2 separate regions of the Homo sapiens genome follow, and region 1 is linked to region 2. Evidence: promoter capture Hi-C in human tissues and cell types (Jung and others, 2019). All regions are on one chromosome and are shown on one strand. The core of a region is centred on a gene start or on the middle of the fragment in contact, and the rest is flanking DNA. Distances in the headings are between cores, read along the strand shown. Region 1 has its middle 45 kb from the start of SNORD93. Region 2 holds the start of TOMM7 (translocase of outer mitochondrial membrane 7).

Region 1 (4,117 bases), core at 507-3,006, 79 kb before region 2:
CTTTATCCAGTGGTTGTCCACCCCTCTCTGGCCAGGTTATGATATTAAAAAATGTCTTCACATGTTGACAAATTTCCTTTAAGAGGGAAACATCATGAACCACTACTCATGAGGGATATTAGTATGTCATTTTAAAAAAGAATTTGACATTAGAGTTATTGTCTCATAACATGAGTAGACAGTGTTTCCTCCTGCTTTATTTTCTGAAAATTTTACATGAGATCAGTATTATTTCTTCCTTGATTGATAAAATTTACCAGTGAAACTAAGTGTCCTAGAATTTACTTTGTGGGTAGGTTGCTGGTAACAAATTAATTTCTTTTAACAGAGATAGAGCTATTCAGATTTTCTGTTTCTTCTTGTGTCAATTTTGATAAGTTTTATTTTTCTAGGAGTTTGTTCATTTATGTAAGTTGTCAAATTTGTTGGCATAAGGTTTTTCATAATATTCTCTCACAATCCTTTTAATATTGGTTGAATCTATAGTTATAATTGTTTTTAAATTCTTGGTTATTTGGAGTCTCTTTTTTTTTCATTACAAGAAGTTTGTCAATTTTAGATTGTTTCCAGTTTAGGGCTATTACAAATAAAGCTGTTATGAACATTTGTGTACAAGTTTGTATGCTTGCATGTTTTCATTTCGCTTGAATATATGCCTATGAGTGAAATTACTGGATTATGTGGAAACTATGTTCAACCTTTTGAGAAACCACTGAACTGTTTTCCACAGTGGCTGCTTTATTTTATACTCCCCCACTCCAGGAGTGTATAAGGGATGCAATTCCTTCACCTCCTTTCCAAAATTTATCAACACTGCCTTTTTTATTCTAGCTATTCTAGTATGTGTGAGGTGGTATCTTACTGTGGTTTTGATTTGCATTTTCCTAATGACTAATGTTATTGAATACCTTTTTATGTGCTTACTGGTCATTTGTATACCTTCCTTGGCTGCTGCAGTTTAATTTATCATTTCTTCCATTTATGGTCTATGCTTTAGTGTTCCTATCTAAGAAACTATGTTTATCTCAAGGTCACTAAAATTTTATCCTAGTTGTCTTCTGGAAGTTTTATAGTTTTAGATTTTATATTAGTCTATTATACAGTTTGCCTTAATTTTTGTACATGATTTGAAGAAAGGGTCAGTGTTCATTTTTTCCCCATATAGATATGCAATAGTTCCAGCACCATTTGTTGAAAATATTTTTTTCCATTGAATTTCCTTGACACTTTAAAAAAAATAACCATATATATGGCATATTTCTGGACTGTCTATCCAGTTCTCCTGGTCTATATATCTACCGTTTGCTAAGGCCAAACTGGTTTGTTACTGTAGCTCAGGGCTTCTCAGTTTCAGATTATTTAAATTTTGGTTCCAATAATTCTTTGTTGGTAATATTTTCAAAGAACTAGCTTTTGGTTTTGTTAATTTTCTCTATTGTGTGTTTTCTATTTTTCTGACTTTTGTTGTAATTAATTTTATTTACTTTCTGATACTTACTTTGGGTTTTTTTTTAGCTTCTTAAAATAATCATTAATTTAAAACTATCAAATTGTTTTCTAATACAAGCATTTAAAACTATACATTTCTCCCTAAGCACTGCTTTACCCACATCCCATATATTTTTATGTGTTCTATTTTTGTCATTGTGTTTAACATAATTTCTAAATTTCCTTCTGATTTCTCCTTTGACTTATAACATTTGAAAGCTTGCATTTAATTTCCAAATATTTGAGGTTTCCTAGATATGTTACTTTTATTGATACGATTTGTAATTTAATTCTATTGTGGTTGGACAATATGCTCTACATGCTATCAATTCCTTAGAAGTTATTGAGATTTGTTTTATGGCTCAGCATATGGTCTGTCTTGGTGAATGTACCATGTGTACTTGAAGAGGATATGTATTCTGCAATTGTTGGATGTAATATTATACAAATGCTGATTATATCAAGATATTTTATAGTATTATTCAAATCTACTATGTCCTGAATTTTGTCTAGTTGTTCTATCAATTGATAAAAGAAGTATATTAAAATATTTTACTATGATTGCAGAATTATCTGTTTCTCCCTTTAATTTGGTTAATTTTTTTTCTTCATGTATTTTGAGGTTCTGTTATTAGGCACATATTTATAATTTATATGTCTTTCTGATGGATTGCTCCTTTTATATTTCTGATATATTCTCTTTTATCTCTGGTAATATTCTTGTCTTATTGTTTATTTAATCTGATATCAATATATCCTCTTCAGCCTTCTTAGGCTTACTTATTTTTCCAAATACCATCTTAGTTGGGGCTAGAGCTTCAACAAATGAATTTTGTGGAAACACAAACATTTAGTCCCTAAAAATGTTCTTAGGATTTGTATTTGAAATGAGTTTCTTGTAGACAGTATATAGTTAGGCTATGTTCTTTATCCACTCTGCCAATCTTCGTCTTCTAATTGGTGTGTTTACACCAGTTACATTTAATGTAATTATTGATATGTCAGGGCTTAAATCTTTCATTCTATTTTTTTCTATTTTTAGTTTTCTGTTAGTTTCTTCTTTTTTGTTTATTTTTTCTGACTTCCTCTGGGTTGCTTAACATTTTTTAAAAAGAATTATTGGTGTATATTTTTCTTTCCTTTTTTTTTTTTTTTTTTTTTTTTTGAGACAGGGTCTCACTCCCATTGTCCAGGCTGTAGTGCAGTGGTGCAATCATGGCTTACTGCCCCCTCAACTTCCTGGGCTCAAGCGATCCTCCCACCTCAGCCTTCCAAATAGCTGGGACTACAGGCACAAACCACCACACCTGGGTAACTTTTTGTATTTTTAGTAGAGATGAGGTTTTGGCATGTTGCCCAGGGTAGTCTCAAACTCCTGGGCTCAAGGAATCTGCCTGCCTCAGCCTCCCAAATTGCTTACAGGCATGAACCACCATGCCAGGCCAGTATGTTTTTCGTTGCATGTACTTTCAAACCTATTTGTGTCTTCTTACTTAGAGAAGACACAAATAAAGATGGTATCATGTACAGAGCATATAGTTGAGTCTTGCTTTTTTCTACTCACTCTGATAATTTTTGCTTTTTAATGTGTTTAGATCATTAACATTTAATGTAATTATTGATATGGCTGAATCTAGGTCTATCATTTCATCATCTCATCATCTGTACCCTTCATTTTTTGTTCTTCTGTTCCCATCTTATTGTTTTTTAAACAATTTTCCTAGTATTCCATTTTAATTTATCTATTTGATTTTTAGCTATATTTCTTTGTATTGCTATTTTAATGATTGCTCTAAGAATTATAATATACATCCCTAAGCAGATCTTGCCTTTTTAATACAGTGCTTCAAAGGTTTTCCTGGAAGCTTACCTAGCAGATATCTGTTTACATCTCATTGGCTAAAATTGGGTTTAATCACTACCTTTAGACCAACCATTGTCCATGGATAGTGACTAGGTTAGACAAATTTGATTCACATTCTAGAATTGGAGAATGAATCCATCTACACTGAAATAGGGGATTCTCTTTGTTTGATATTTGCTAGTAGGAAAGAAGGAGGGTGAATACAAAGTAAACAGCGGTCAGTGCCTGCCAAGGTCATTAAGCTTGTCAAATGTACTTAGTGTGCCAACATTTTAACCTCAGCACATTTTTAACACAGTTCTTTTTTTTGTTGTTGTTATTTCCCTTTAATTATCTTACTAATAAAGGAAAACTGTCCCCTTTAAAAAATTACATTAAATGTAGCTTCTAGTATTTGTTGCCCATGTCTCCTATTCCCATTTTGTTGTTTATTTAGGCTAGGAGTGCCCTTTGGAATAAATTTTGAAAGTCTGTGCAAAACTGGCCTATGGTAGACAATGTTTATTATCTACAAATGAGTGATTTAATAATGAATGCATAAAATTTTCTGACTACAAAAATGAAATTTCCTAAAGAATCAGTTCAATTTTATTCTAACAGATCAGAATTTCTCTTCAGATTATTTTGCTGTAAAGGAGACAACCATAACTTTTCTTTAAAAAAAAAGCAAAAGAGAGAAAAAAAAGATTAATTTGGGCCATTGACTAGTTCCTTTCCCATTTTAAAAAGAAGGTAGTTGTCATAAACAATGTTACATATAATTTT
Region 2 (3,601 bases), core at 913-3,412:
ATGAAACTGCCACTGTAAAATTATAACTGAGACGGCGAAAGACATCTGACATCACCAACTCCATCTTGCTTCTAACCTCCAAGCTGTCCTTGTTCACTCCTGGGCATAGGCTGAACTAACTTTGGAAAGAACTTTTAGTTTATAGCTTAAAACAAAGATGATAACAGCCCTTTCCCTAAACAAATCCCCTTCTTGCCTAAAAAAATTCTTTTAATCCTTACAGGAATTTGTAAGATTGCAGTGCATTATAGCTTATTTTACTAATTTTGTAAGGATTTAAATATATATAGTTGGCTTCATTTTACAGGTAAGGAAACTGAGATTCAGAGATATTAAATAATTGATCAAAGATCACACAGTTGGTTTGTGCTTTTAGTCATTATATTGTCCCTTGCTGTTGTTATCTGAGCTCCACCAAAACATAAACTATTTCTTTTTTTTTTTTTGCTCTTTCCAACTTTTACTTTAGTTTCAGGGAGTGCATGTGCAGGTTTGGTATACAGGCTAACAGATTAGCGAAAAGATTAGACATTATGGTTTAGGAGTCATGCAGCTGGAGGCTACAAGATTCTGACCCTCCCCAAATTGCTCCTGGGGATAACAACTCTATTGTAAAGCCTAACATCAGTGTTTGAGATATTTTGCAGACCCTGCAAAATGGATCAGCTGGAACCACCCAGATAGGTAAACTGGCTCATCTGATCTTGTGGTCCCAACCCAGGAACTAAGATTCTGACCCTTCCCAAATTGCTCCTGGGAATAACACTATTGTAAAGCCTAACATCAGTGCTTGAGATACTTTGCAGAGCCTGCAAAATGGATCAGCTGGCACCACCCAGATCGGCAAACTGGCTCATCTGATCTTGTGGCCCCGACCCAGGAACTGAGGCAGTACAAGACAGCTTCCACTCCCTGTGATTTCATCTCTGACCCAACCAATCAGCACTTCCGACTTACTGGCTGTCTCCCCACGCACCAAATTGTCCTTAAAAACTCTGATCCCCGAATGCTATGGGATACTGATTTGAGTAATAATAAAACTCTGGTCTCCTGCACAGCCAGCTCTGCGTGAATTACTCTTTATTGTAATTCCCCAGTGTTGATCAATCGGCTCTGTCCAGGCAGCGGGCAAAGTGAACCCTTTGGGAGCTTACAGCAAGTGACCCAATCACAGCTCACTGCAGCATCAAACTCAAGTGGTCCTCCCGCCTCAGCCTCCCAAATAGCCAGAATTACAGGCGCAAGCCACAGAGGTCAGCAAGGGGAAATTTTTAGGAGCACAGACATTGGGCACAGAAAACGACTACGTACCTTCAGAATGAGGCAGGAAAGTCTTAAAAGTCAAAGTCTTAGAAATGTCTTACAGCCTTAAAAATCAATTAAGTCTTAGACCTGGGGGGGTCAAATCTCAAATACGACAGCAGCCAGAAATTTATTACATCAGAGGTTGGGAATCACTTGGGAAACTTCAAAGGCAGATCAATGGCCAGTTCCCAGCCCCAAACTCTTTAGAATTTCTAGGAGTAGGTCTCCAGCGTGAGTATGGTTTTACCTCTCCTAAAGTGATTCTAATGTGCAGCCAGGGTTGAGAACCACTGCCATTCTAAACCAATGAGGGCAAGATGGCCAAACAGAAGTGTCATTTCCTATTTAGTCTCCTTGATTGTTGCAATGGAATTCCTCAGCTTCAAAAGTCCAGAATTTCATGTGAGATTTCCAAATTCTAAAATGTTGGCAAGTAATTAAAAGAAATTTTTTTAAAAAAGATTGGGATCAAAGAAAACATGGATTCGGGCCCTACTGAGTGTCACTTCGTAACCTTTTTGCAGTTCAACCTCAGGTTTGAACAACCTGATTCTGAGAAGTTAAATAATTTGTCCACGGTTACACAGCCAGTAGGAATAAGAGTTAGGACTAAAACCCAGTCCCTCTGAATTTAATTAATGTTCCTTCCATGAGAAGGAAGGAACACCTGAAGATGCGTTTTAAAAATGGGTAACAGAAACGCGAAGTTACCGCCAGCCATGATCGCAACCACGCATGCGCCTACTACTGCCGGCGAGGCGGAAGAGCAGGGAAGGTTAAAGGCGATGAATTACGACCTCTGCTGGCGACGCTCACGACTCCTGCCGTAAAGGCCGTGTGTGGCGCCTGCGCACCTCCTTTCCCTTTCGGATTCCCGACGCTGTGGTTGCTGTAAGGGGTCCTCCCTGCGCCACACGGCCGTCGCCATGGTGAAGCTGAGCAAAGAGGCCAAGCAGAGACTACAGCAGCTCTTCAAGGGGAGCCAGTTTGCCATTCGCTGGGGCTTTATCCCTCTTGTGATTTACCTGGGTCAGTGGGAGAAGAACCGGGAAAGTGACTGGAGGGAAGAGGGTGGCGGAGACAGCAGCCCCATTTTTGGCCGTCGGGGGAGGGAGAGAAAAATAGGGGACACTGCCGTGCACGGCCCCTGAGGCTGTCTGGTCAAGTGGGGCCGATCTAACCTGAGTTCGAGTTCCCGTTCTATCGCTTTATAGTTGCATGGTCTTTAAGCAGTCTTGCAATCCCTCCTTTTCTATTTTTGCATCCTTAAAGTGGAGGTCATATTTCTCGGGATTGTAGGGAGGGTTGGATGACCCCAGTGGATGTGAAAGTCACTAATTCACTCTCTAGCACTAGGTGGTTCTCGGGGTGTTTTTCCTCACCGCTCCATGTGGTCCTAAGTGGAAAGAGTCCTGTTCAGGGAATCGAGACACCTCGTGAAAGTACCACTGCCATGAAAGCATGATTATAATAATAGTCGTTGGATGCCTCTGCTTTCTTACCTGTACGATGAAGGGTTTGGATGATTTCTATTACTGCCCCCATTTTACAGGTGAGGAAACAGCCGTAGAGAAACTTTTTTGCCAAGGTCGCACAGCTATGCTGACTGAGGGAGTTAGGGGCTCAGGCAGTGGGGCATCAGAGCCCATAGTCTTAACCATTATAGCGCACTTAAAGGATTTGGGGTTTTTTTGGTTTTTGTTTTTAAGACAGAGTCTCGCTCTGTCACCCAGACTGGAGTGCAGTGGCGCTATCCCGGCTCATTGCAACCTTCCCCTCCTGTGCTCTAGCGATCCTTCCACCTCAGTCTCCCAAGTAGCTGGGACTACAGGCTGGTGCCAACAGGCTCGGTCACTTACTGCAAGGATTTGTTAATATTTTTCAGTTAGGGTTGCAGACTGGGACCTATTCTGTAGTTTTTTCTTTTCTTTTCTGTCTTTTTTTTTCCTTTTTTCCTTTTTGAGACAGTCGCTGTGTGCCCAGGCTGGAGTGTAGTGGCGCGATCTCTGCCCACCGCAATCTCTGCCTCTCGGGATCAAGCGATCCTTCCCCCTTAGCCTCCCGAGTAGCTGTGATTACAGACTTGCAGCCACCGCTCGCGGCTAATGTTTATATTTTTAGTAGAGACGGGGTTTTGCTTATGTGGGCCAGGCTGGCCTCAAACTCCTGGCCTCAAGTTAGCTACCTCCCCTCCAGCCGGCCTCCGCCCCGCGCGCGGCCTCCCAAAGTGCTGGGATTACAAGTGTGAATCACCGCGGCCAGGCTGTAGTTTTTTCTTTTTCTTTTTTTTTTTTTT

The links. The method cuts DNA at HindIII sites, captures the fragments that hold promoters and counts their contacts. A contact is called where the count stands out against the background at its distance.
Region 1: a contact is called between a fragment that was not itself captured here and the fragment with the promoter of TOMM7 in region 2, in 4 of the 25 tissues and cell types used here (hippocampus, neural progenitor cells, spleen and 1 more).

The regions. Positions count from the first base shown.
Region 1 is chr7:22,899,758-22,903,874 of GRCh38, reverse strand. It overlaps a transcript of HYCC1 not described here. Among named protein-coding and RNA genes, the nearest start is that of SNORD93, 45 kb to the right of the region's middle. The HindIII fragment of the contact is 7,280 bases long and covers 1-4,117 here.
Region 2 is chr7:22,821,410-22,825,010 of GRCh38, reverse strand. TOMM7 (translocase of outer mitochondrial membrane 7) reads left to right here and starts at 2,162. Exons shown (of 3, transcript NM_019059.5): 1 at 2,162-2,334. The coding sequence starts at 2,232. It overlaps LOC112267993 (a long non-coding RNA gene), which reads right to left and starts at 2,054. Exons shown (of 3, transcript XR_002956543.2): 1 at 1,312-2,054. RefSeq lists enhancers at 1,932-2,141, 2,172-2,251, 1,921-2,681. The HindIII fragment of the contact is 34,135 bases long and covers 1-3,601 here.